Linked DNA regions of Homo sapiens: all the other regions are linked to region 2. Evidence: promoter capture Hi-C in 16 types of primary human blood cells and fetal thymus (Javierre and others, 2016). All regions are on one chromosome and are shown on one strand. Each heading gives the region's core, a stretch centred on a gene start or on the middle of the fragment in contact. The rest is flanking DNA. Distances are from core to core; before and after follow the strand shown. Region 1 overlaps ARHGAP4 (Rho GTPase activating protein 4). Region 2 holds the start of SLC10A3 (solute carrier family 10 member 3). Region 3 holds the start of AVPR2 (arginine vasopressin receptor 2).

Region 1 (3,698 bases), core at 1,193-3,692, 570 kb after region 2:
GGCCGTAACCCCACTGCAGTCCCTGGAGCTTCAGCACCTTTTGCCTCCCTTTAGCACTGAGGGGGAGCAGAGGCGAGGGCCACTGTCTCTGGGTCAAGCTGGCGCAGTGAGTCTTGGTTGAGAGATTTAACAGGGCTGGCTTCTCAGCCTTCTGAAATTGAACCTCTGGGTTCTGATAAACACCCATGTGCAAATCACATGCAAATCAGCTTTGCAAATTCTTAGCCAATAGCTTGTGCCCATCTTATTCAGGGCATGGTAACTCTTGCAAAGGAAAGAGGCAGCAGCTCAGTGCCAGCAGCTCGTCCATATCACTCTCAATCACTCCATTTTACCAATTACGGAAACAAGCTCAGAGAGGTGCAGTGACTTGCCCGTGGTCATACAGCACTGCAACTTCTAGGACGTAGAATGCAATGACCCTTGAAGTGCCTTTGAACCCAGAGATGTAGGTTCTAACATCATTATTCAGTGCAAGCAATTTATACCAAAGTATGCTCCAGTCCTCCTTTGGAAAAGGCAGCCTGTGTCCAGAGCCAGCTTGAGGTGACTACACAGGGTGAGCCAGCTTTCCAAGCCTCGCCATCATCTTGCTCAGATGGAGGTAATGATCTCCATCCTGCTTCCCCAAAATGCCATGAAGCTGAAAGACTTGGAAAACTTCAGTCAGCAAATATGGGTCAGTGATTTCACACTGAAAAGTTGGGGTTTCGAGCACGACTGTCTAAGGGTTCCTCACTTGCTCTGGGTCTGCATCCCACACCCTGGAAAAGCTTCCTACCATTCTACAAAGTGGGGTCACTGTCTTGACACCCTAAATTCTCAAAGGTCAGCATAGCGGTGGTTTTGGAGACCATCTTTTCTTCTGTTTTGCTTGTCAGCAGAAGTGAGACCAAATGCCTTGCTCACAGGAAGTGCTGGTGGGGCCCGGGGCCCAGCTCTGTAATTCAGGCAGACATGGATTCCAGCTCTCCTTTTGCCAGATGTTTCCTATACATCTGTGCTGTCCCAGGCCCTGGGAGTATACTGCTGTACCAGAGAGAACCCCGACTCCAGCCCCTCCAGCCCTGGCTTTTTACCCAGAGTAAAAGCAATGATTCAATGAGGACTCCCCTGATTTCAAATGGCGTCAGTGGCCACCCCGCCCTCACATGGCTCACGGGTCTAGTGGGGGAGACATAGACTTTGCATTATGATAATAAGCACTACAAAGGGAAGGAAAGTGCACGGTGCCAAGAAGGGGTCGGAAGAGGGCCAGCCCTAGTTTAGGGGGAGGTCAGGACAGGGTGTGCTGACGAGTTTGTCTGAACTGAGATCCGAAAGCTCTGCCAGGAAAGCCACCAATGCAATCGACTTGCAATTCACAAGTTGCCTGCTCAACACCAGCCGGTGTGCATGCCCGGATCTGGACTAGGACATGGCTTCCAGTCAGCTTTTGCTGCCGGCAGTGATGAAGAAAGGCAGCGGTTCCCTCTGCTGGTTCCTTCTGCACTGTTCAGTTGTCATAAGTCCCCAGGGATTGTATTCCTCTGGGGGAAGCAGGGCAGGGCAGGCTCCAGAGGGCCAGTGAGGCGAGCAGTTGTCTAACACCTTTCTTGGAATGAAATGAAATTTACTTTTATCAAAAAATGTTAAACTGGGCCAGGCGTGGTGGCTCACGTCTGTAATCCCAGCACTTTGGGAGGCCGAGGCGGGCGGATCACCTGAGGTCAGGAGTTCAAGACCCAGTCTGGCCAACATGATGAAACCCTGTCTCTACTAAAAATACAAAAATTAGCTGGGTGTGGTGGTGCGCCCCTGTAGTCCCAGCTACTCGGGAGGCTGAGGCGGGAGAATCGCTTGAACCCGGGAGGCGGAGGTTGCAGTGAGCCGAGATCGCACCACTGTACTCCAGCCTGGGCAACATCCTCCGTCTCAAAACAAAAAATCAAAACAAAACGTTAAACTGATTCAGTGAGGACTCTCCTGATTTCAAATGGCATTAGCGCCCACCCCACCTGGCCTTGGAGCTGACGAGTTAACCACAGGAGGCCAGCCTCGGATAGGATGAAGACACTCTCCATCTGTCTCACTTGGCATCGTGGGCTCTGCCCTGCTCTGTCGGGAGGTCCCGTGCCCCAGGCTTCCACTTACCCAGCTTGATCTGCCGGTGGGAAGAGCTCTCCTGTTCAGTAATTCAATTGGAAGGGTCAGGCTCCTGGGTCCCTCACCTGGCTAGTCTGGTGGGGGCAGGGAGTGGAGGGACAGAGGGATGGGTGACGCATGCAGCCAGGGCTGGGGCACCTGGAGTCAAGGGGGCTGAGACTAGGAAGGGGACATTCTCCAATAGGAGATCAGGGGAGGAGGTAGGGATGCTGGGCAGGCGGAACCCACAGGGTCCCCATGCAACAGCCCCTGGGAAGTCACTGGCGGGACAGAAATCCAATGGGATTGAGCTCTTCTCAGCGGAGTCCTCCCTCGCTGCTGCTGGTCTGAATCCTGCCGTCTTTTGCCTGGACTAGCACAGTAGCTGCCACCTGGGCTCCACCTGGCAGTGTGAGGGGGCCCTGAAAACGAAGCTGGACCACATCACCCCACTACTGTGGCTCCTCTCTCACTCGGAGTCCAGCTGGGAGCTCTGCCCAGACCCCGGGCTCTGTGCCATCTGTCCCTACCGGTCTCTCGGACTCCCCCTACTGCCCACGTACAGCCAGCTCCAGCCTTCTGCTCCAACGATGCGGCTTGTTCTTGACCACCCTCCTTTAAAAAGAGGTCCTCCCTGTCCCCACCCACCCCTGGCTCTGATCTTGCTTTGTGGGTTCATCTTCTCCGCACCCATCACTCCTGGGCATTCTGATATGTGTTCGTGCCCCATTCCAATCCCAGCTCCAAGAGGGCAGACACTTGGTCAAACCTCTTTGCCTTTGTATTTAAAACGTGCCTGCCACAGAATGGGTGCATAATCAACATTCTGCTGAATGAAGACATCAATTCATGTCCCTCCCTGGGGATGTGGATGGAGATGAGTAGGTGGGCAGCCTGCTGGCCAGAAGCTGAGCTAGCATCTTATTTACTCGGGACGGGCACTCAGGAGATGGCAAAAGTGTCTTCCGCAGGTTGCTTAAACTTGCTGGACAGGCACTTCTTTGCTTCAGGCCTGTGTGGGGGAAGCAGCGTTGCCAAATCAAGCCAGTGATAGGGTGTCAAAAGGCCGGCAGTATGGGGCCCTGGGTGTGACTCTCTCTGCAGGGTGGGGGAATGCACAGGTGGGGCGGGGGGTGATTGGGAGTGGGAAGTGGGGTCAGAAGACGGGGGCTAGCTCCCTGCCCCATTCTTTCACTTACAAGGCCGGATCAGCTCTCCCTGGCTCCCAGCCCTCACTGTGGACTGTCCTTTCCCCTGGGGCCTGAGGGCAGGCTTCCCCAGCCACTGAGACTGCGAGATCGCTGCAGGCTTGCCCTGAGCAGCACTGTGATCTGTGTGTTGTGTATCCGTGTGTTTGCAAGGGAGGCTGCCACCTCCCGGAGCCTGGGTACCGGCGGGAAAGGAAGTCGCAGGGGAAACCATTCAGAGGCTTTCCAGGAACGAGGGAGAGACAGGAAGCCAAACTGAAAGGTGCCTGGCTGGCGCTGGGGCGGCTCTCCCCTCTCTCTGGGACACCCTTCCCCTTCCCCCTCAACCGGGTGGCTCTGGCCATCTGTTGGCCTCAGCGCAGAGGT
Region 2 (3,761 bases), core at 1,214-3,713:
AGGACACAACTTTTTGGGTTTTCCTTCTTTGGCTTTTCCAGCTGACTCCTTTCTCCCTCTGGCCAATTTTACCCCATCCTCAGACAATCCCTACCCTCACTGCCGTTTTCCAAATTGCAATCTTCAGCCCCAGCATGTGCCTAGTCCAGCCCTTTCACCTGTCCTAGTCTAAATACTGTCTACTTCCATCAGGACCCTTCAACCCCATTTGAAAGGGACAGAACAACCTTTCCAGAACACCAAGTACAAACACACAAATCGCTTCTGCCTTAGTGATCCCTGGAGGCTAAACAATGGCTGAGAGCTATGGCTGCAAATGTTTTTGATCATCCACACATCAAACCCTTGTAACAACCCTCAGCATATGTATATTTGCTCATATTATACGCACATACTAACTTGAACTTTGTAAAACACACACAAAAATCAATTTTTTTTTTTTTGAGATGGGAGTCTCACTCTGTTGCCCAGGCTGGAGGAGAGTGGCGCGATCTCGGCTCACTGCAACCTCCCCCCACCCGGGGTTCAAGAGATTGTCCTGCCTCAGCCTCCCAAATAGCTGGGACTACAGGCGCCCACCACCACGCCCGGCTAATTTGTTTGTATTTTTAGTAGAGACGGGGTCTCACCGTGTTAGCCAGGATGGTCTCAATCTCCTGACCTCGTGATCCGCCCGCCTCGGCCTCCCAAAGTGCTAGGATTACAGGCATTAGCCACCGCACCCGGCCAAAAAAACTTTTTAAGCTGGGCATGGTGGCATGCTCCTGTAGTCCCAGCTACTTGGGATACTGAGGTGGGAAGATCGCTTGAGCCCAGGGGTTCGAGGCTGCAGTGATTATGATGGCACTACTGCATTCCAGCCTGGGTAACAGAGCGAGACCCTGTCTCTAAATAAATAAATAAAGTTTTAAAATAAATTTAAATGTCAATAAATTTATTAAAAGTATATTATTTGGCTGGGCACGGTGGCTCACACCTGTAATCCCAGCACTTAGGGAGGCTGAGGCGGGTGGATCGTTTGAGGTCACGAATTTGAGACCAGCCTGGCCAACATGGCAAACCCTGTCTCTACTAAAAAATATAAAAATTAGCCGGGTGGTAGTGGCGCACGCCTGTAATCCCAGCTACTCAGGAGGCTGAGGCAGGAGAATCGCTTGAATCCGGGAGGCGGAGGTTGCAGTCAGCCGAGCTTGTGCCACTGCACTCCAGCCTAGGCGACAGAGCGAGACCCTGTCTCAAAAATAAATAAATAAGTAATAAAAACAAATGTATATCATTCATTTGAAACATTAGAGACGTGGGTGGTTTTGTTCTGTTCTGTTTCCACATCTGCAACCATGCGTCTTGTGCACCTACCCGGGGCAAATACCTCCGACTCCATCACAGTCTTGACAAGAGGTTGAAGTGTGCAGATTGATTCCAGTTGCACCAATAAGCTTTGGGAACATATGATCCCCCCCCCCCCAACTCTGTACTGTCTTCTGTACTGCCTTCCGACCTTCTTTCTACACATTCCCATCATATTTTTCCCCAACTTTCTGCCTTCTTTCTCTTCCTTTACCACAAAGCCTCTGCACCTTGCTAGTGGCGCCAAAGTTTGGAAAAGCAGACAAGTCCACTTAATGTTCCACAGTATAGAAACTGGCCTACGCCGGGCGCAGTGGCTCACGCCTGTAATCCCAGAACTTTGCGAGGCCGAGGCGGGTGGCTCACGAGGTCAGGAGTTCGAGACCTACCTGGCCAACATGGTGAAACCCCGTCTCTACTAAAAATACAAAAATTAGCCGGGCGCGGGGGCGGACGCCTGTAATCTTAGCTACGCGGGAGGCTTAGAGAGGAGAATGGATTGAACCCGGGAGGCGGAGGTTGCAGGGAGGCGGAGGTTGCAGTGAGCCGAGATCGCGCCACTGCACTCCGGGCTGGGTGACAGAGCAAGACTCAGTCTCAGAAAATAAATACATAAAATAGAAATAGGCGCTCGGTCAATACTTGAACGAAAGGAGGAACTCCGCACAGAGCCTGGCGTCCAGGTCGGTCAAACTCAACCCTGGGGCCCCAGGGCTGGGCACCTTGAGCGGCAACGTGGCCAAAACCCTAACCCCGGGCACCCAGCCCTGCTAACGTCTAACCCTCTGTCCCATTGCCTTTAGAGGTCGCAGCGTAATCGGGAATGCCTGGGGCTCCCTCCCAGAGCGGGTCGCCCCAGCGATCACAACAGCTTCAGATGCGCTGCCAAGCGATTGGTCCAGGCAGCGCCAAGCGCCGACCAGCTCACCCGCACCGCGCCCGCGCCGGCGCGTCACTCCCAGAGACGTCACAACCGGTCGGAGCCCAGCGAGCAGCCGGAGTTGAGCTGGACGCTGAGGGGGGGGCGGGGCCCTGACGCGCGGGGCGGGGAAGGGAGGGGCTTCGGTGGGGCGGGGCCCTGACAGGCCGAGCTCGCGGGCGACTGCCGGCCAGGCAGACGCTGCAGCTAAGCTGCGCGGTGGCTGTGGCAGGTGAGAGCCTCCGGAAGGGAGGCGGCCTCTGGCCCCGACCCTGCTCCGCGATCGCCCACTCGGGCGCCCGGCCGGGCCTGGCAGGGAAGGGCCGCCGCCGCCGCCGCGCGTTTGCGAGGCCTGGCGGGGCCGCGGGGCCCAGGAATGGCGTAAGGGGCCCCCCCAGACTCCGAGACGGCCCGAGCGGGTCGCCGGCTGTGGGACGGCGGCGTGCCCTTCCTTTCCTCCCTCCCAGGTTCGCGCCCGAGCTCTGCTAGCCACCCGTCCGACAACTTCCGGACTCCCAGGTAGGGAGGAGCCCCTGTTAGCACTGCCAGTTACCCCGAACACTTGGCCGTTTTGGAAGGGCCGGGACTCCCTCCCCTGCCTTGTGGGTGCATCTGCTCAAACTCTGTCGGCCCCTCAAGCAGAAATGGTGTGGGATCTGGGCCAAACCCCTCTTGGAGTGACTCAGAGCCGCCAGCCCTACTGGAGGGATGGGGCATGGGGTGGATGGCCCCTAGCCTTTCCCTTCTGAGCTGGTTTGTATCACCCCGGTGGCTTCAGTCCTGGTGCCTTCATCTTAGCTCCTGTACTTTGCCTCTCCCACCCCACTGGTTTTCCTGCCTCCCTCTTCAGAGGTAAGACACATGGCTGGACCAAGGCCTCCAGGGTAAGTGACCCGAACTTCAAGCCAGCAGAGGCCATGTCATCCTAAGCTAGGGATAGGGGAGGCTCGCCGGGATGAGCCTTTGGCTTAACCTAACCTCTGCTCCCTACTTCTGCCTCACCCCAGTCTCAGATGACGGGAGGCCAATGCCAAAGACGGATAGGATCTATAGAGGCAGTCCTCTTCTAGGACTGGGACACAACAGTGCATGAGGCAACTGACAGGGGTGATGTAAAGCTGTTGTGTCTCCATCCTGGTTGCCCCAGTTCTAGCAGGTGATGTGACACTACGGTGGTCGCTGCCCAGATTGAGAAGTGGAAGGGGGTGTTGCTGGCCGCTAGAAACACTCATAATTCCACTGAGTTTGAGGCTCTGGTAGGGGCGCATGTGGGCATGGGAAGGAGCCCTGCACTCTGAGCACAGCCTCTCAGATGTAACGCAGTGGCTCTGGGAGGTCAAAGTCTCAGCCCAGTGGGAGCTCTGACAAAAGGAGGAGAAACCCCCCCAGTAGACATGTGGCTCTGTCTGATCCACTCCTGCCGCCCCTTCTGGCAACTTCCCTGGGGAGGGAGGACCTGCTTCCCAGCAGGACCTTCATCGAGTCACTGTAGGGG
Region 3 (3,719 bases), core at 1-2,500, 590 kb after region 2:
CGGTGGCGGTCCAGCGTCATGGCCAGGATCATGTAGGAGGAGGCATACATGCCCACCATCTGCAGATACTTCACGGCCCGACACAGGGCATCTGGCCCACGGAAGCGGTCGGTGGCCTTCCAGGCCAGCTGGGGCAGCACTTGGAACAGAGCCACGGCCAGGTCGGCCAGGCACAAGTGGCCAATGAAGACGTGTATGGGTGCCCAGTGGCCCCGCCGGCCCCGCCGAGCTAGGGCCGCCAGCACCAGGCCATTGCTCAGGGCCACAGCCACAAAGACTATGGAGAGCAGCGCCAGCTCCGCCCGGGCTAGCAGCGGGTCCCGGGTGTCCAGTGGCCTCTCCTGGCTGCTGTTGCTGGGCAGGCTGGGCAGAGAGGGATGCCCAGGCACAGCTGGGAAGGAGTCGGGAAGAGGGCCTGGTTAGAGAGGGTGCTGTGCAGGGGGACTCAGGCCTGCCTCCCGTGCCCCCATCCGGACACCCACTTCCTGGCTCCTAGCAGAGGGGACTCCAGGAAAGCCATGTTATGAGGGATACACACCCCAGGCTCATGCAGTCCAGAAGGAAGGGCAGCCCCAGCCCCAGCCCCAGCCCCAGCCCTGGCGGGGAAGTGGGGCTGTGCTCCCCTCCCCACTCATTGGCAGCCTGGAGAGACACACCCAGAGGTGAGGGTGAAGGAGGTCTTTAGAAAGAGGGGCTTCCCTGAATCGTCAAACCCACTCTGCCCACCGGACTCATGGAGGGGCAAGCCTTACCGGAAGTGGTGGACGCCATGAGCATGGTGGGGCTGGGGCAGGTGTTCTGAGGGCCTGGAGGTGATGTGCGGACTCAGCCTCTGCCTGAGGAGCAAGTTCAATGGCCCAGGGTCTCTGGACTGGAGCCCTTATAGAGATGCCAGCATGGCAGATGCCTGTTGGCGTGTGTGCACGTGTCGGTGGCAGTATGGCCAGTCCTGGGCAGGGAAGATTGAGAGGGATGGTCAGACAGACGGATGCACAGAACCCAGGATCCCCCAGGCAGCCCATGAGTCCCGGGTTTGGGAGTGGGCACCCCAGACAGACACGCAGAACTCCCCTGCCCCAACCGAGGCCGAGAGAGGCCACCATCCGAGGGCTGGGGACTGGGCAGGGGGGCAGGCAGGCGCAGCCCCTTACCTGGCTGGGCTCCTGGGCAGCTGGGCGGTGGCGTGAAGGTGGCTGGGTGCTCAGATCTGCTCTCCATCGGCTGCCCTGCCCTGGCCCAGCCCAGCCTCTGGGAGTGACCTGGCCAGGAGGGGACTTCCTCCCCCTCCCCCTTTCCCCCAGGCCTCCCCTGGCCTCCTGTTTCCCTTCCTTTCCCCAGGGCCTCCCTGGTCCCGGCCCAGGACTCCCTCCTCCCACTGCCATAGCCTCCACGCCCACCCTCACCCTACCACGCCCCCCTGGTTGGATTGTCTGGGTTGGCAGTGCTCTGGGAGGTCACTTAGTTCAGCATTCCCATTTTATAAGTGGGGAAACTGAGGCCAGAGAGCGGTGGGTCTGGCCCAGGACTGCGCTGCTTTTTCATGGGAGCTTCACGCCCCCTTCCCAAGTTGGGGTCCTCCTGCTCCTCGCTGGGCCCAGGCAAGGAAGGGGTGAAAACACTTTCGCTGGGCCCCTCCCAGGCCCACGCAGGCCCCTCCTCCTCCCCAGTTAGGGCCCAGTTGGCCGGAGACGAGGGACAGGAAAGGGAGGAGTGGGGCAGGGGCCAAGCCAGGCTTCACGAACCCCTGTGAGATCCAGGGACACCCCCACCCTCTTCCTCCTGCCCCACCTGCAACTACCTGTCCTAGGAAGAGGGGCTGGGGACCTCCGTGTGCTCACGGGCTCCCTCCCACCACACACAACCTCACATGATACAGCCACACAGCCACAAACACACAACACAGAGACGCTCGCTCATGTTCTTGAACATACCATGAGTATGGACGCACCTTCCCTGTACCTGAGCCCTCCTCCTCCCTCCCCCAACACCTCTCTCCTTCCCCTGTCCCCACACCCCCTCCAGCCCCCATCCCAGTAGTTCTCTTTCCACTCCCCCCGCACCCAGGCCTGGCTTGGCTCAGCCGAGGCCAGCCCAGCCCAGCCCAGCCCAAGGCAGCTGCTTTCTTCCTGTTTGTCTGTCTTCTCTGTTGCCTGTGAAGCCAGAGACCAAAACAGCCTCACGGACCAGGCCCAAGTCCGGCCCGCGGCCAAGGCCTCCTCTTCCTGCCCAGAGAGCCTGGCAGCACCCTGGCCCCTCCCGGCCCTGTTAGGGTGGTGGGAACACAGGGTGGGCATTTTCCAGAGACAGCGCACACACCACACCACATACATACATGCACACAGCCACACGCCACACACACATGCACCCACCACACACCCATACGCCACACCACACACACACCACACCATGCACACATATATTACACACCACACACATGCACACATCACACACTCCCATACGCCACACACCCACACATGTACCCACCACACAGCCATACACACCACATACGCACAGCCAACACCACACACGCACACACCCGCAGCACACACAGGTGCACATCACACCCCGCATCTTTGCCATGTTTTTGCAGAGCCCCTTGGGGGCAGGCTGCAGAGTGCTGGCACCCCAGGCCTGACGCTTCAGCTGCATCTCCTCAGCGCATGCACATCCTCATGCTGTCCCCAATAACCGCATGCTGTCACTAATCTAGGAGCATAGAAAAGGCCTTCCTAATGCCACCCAGATCAGTGGAATAGGAGATGGCTTCCCTCAACTGGCAGAGAATTTGGGGACCCTGGCTGGGGAATAGGAAAGCAAGGCTCCAGCCCCTGCTTGGCCCCTGCCCAGTAGTGTGACCTTGAACAGGCCACGCCAGCTCTTGGCACCTCAGCTTCCCCTTCTGTGCAATGGGACTTGATGATTGAGGGAGACTACGGTGGTAAGATGGGCAGGGGTGGGGACTGGCAGGGCCTTGGGAAAGCCTTTGTTCCCTCCGTCTAAAGCCGGCTAGGGCGAGGAATCCATGCTAACCTTTTGGGGTGAGCAGACAACCATCTCCTTATCAGTTTCTCTGCCTGAACGAGGCTGTGCAGTGCCGGATCTCAGCAGCAGGTTGGGACCTCCCCTAGCAATGTGGCCAGGCCCGTGGCAATCTCTGCCCCCCTGGACTCCTCGCTTCCTGTTGTTAAACTAGGGAAGAATCTGGAGGAAGGGCCCGCATGGCGGTCTCCTCTGGGATGCAAGAAGCCAGATCAGGATCCAGTGCCATTCTGCTCAGCCAGGACCCCGGGGAGGAACTGGGAGCCACATGGGCAGGCACTACATGGAACTGTGCCAGGAGAGAGGCCCTGGGCAGCCACCCCTCGGGGGCCAAGAAAGATGGGGCTGGGCAGCAGCTCCCATGGGAAGAAGGGCAGACTGTGCTGATTCACGCTAGGCCCACATGAGTCACTCAAGCCCCTGCCCTTGGGCGTTAACGGGCAGGGCATCTACCTGGGGGTGTGCCAGGCCCCCACTCCTGCCAGCGCAGCCCCTGTGTGCACACCTCCCACTGGTCCCTCTAAGACTTGCAGAAAGGGCTCTGTGAGTGCCAAGGTGTGGCTCCTGATCTTCCAGCCTAGTGTCTGGGCAGAAGAGGACAGGAGGCAGATTGGGGGGACACTGTTTGTCCCTCTCTATCTACCGGTTCCCCATGATCAGAACCTTCCATTCACCAAACT

Evidence for each region. The method cuts DNA at HindIII sites, captures the fragments that hold promoters and counts their contacts. A CHiCAGO score of 5 or more calls a contact.
Region 1: a contact is called between a fragment that was not itself captured here and the fragment with the promoter of SLC10A3 in region 2, in 2 of 17 cell types (monocytes and non-activated CD4 T cells). The highest score is 5.2, in monocytes.
Region 3: the fragment with the promoter of AVPR2 here is called in contact with the fragment with the promoter of SLC10A3 in region 2 in 2 of 17 cell types (total CD8 T cells and monocytes); the score reaches 5.6 in total CD8 T cells.

What each region holds. Positions count from the first base shown.
Region 1 is chrX:153,922,020-153,925,717 of GRCh38, reverse strand. The region is part of intron 1 of ARHGAP4 (Rho GTPase activating protein 4); the gene reads left to right. Among named protein-coding and RNA genes, the nearest start is that of ARHGAP4, 2.4 kb to the left of the region's middle. RefSeq lists enhancers at 1,158-1,287, 1,794-2,294. The HindIII fragment of the contact is 3,334 bases long and covers 776-3,698 here.
Region 2 is chrX:154,489,331-154,493,091 of GRCh38, reverse strand. SLC10A3 (solute carrier family 10 member 3) reads left to right here and starts at 2,463. Exons shown (of 2, transcript NM_019848.5): 1 at 2,463-2,785. RefSeq lists a silencer at 2,231-2,740. The HindIII fragment of the contact is 4,164 bases long and covers 1,439-3,761 here.
Region 3 is chrX:153,902,204-153,905,922 of GRCh38, reverse strand. It overlaps AVPR2 (arginine vasopressin receptor 2), which reads right to left and starts at 1,250. Exons shown (of 4, transcript NM_000054.7): 1 at 1,152-1,250; 2 at 753-949; 3 at 1-391. The coding sequence starts at 777. The HindIII fragment of the contact is 5,945 bases long and covers 1-3,719 here.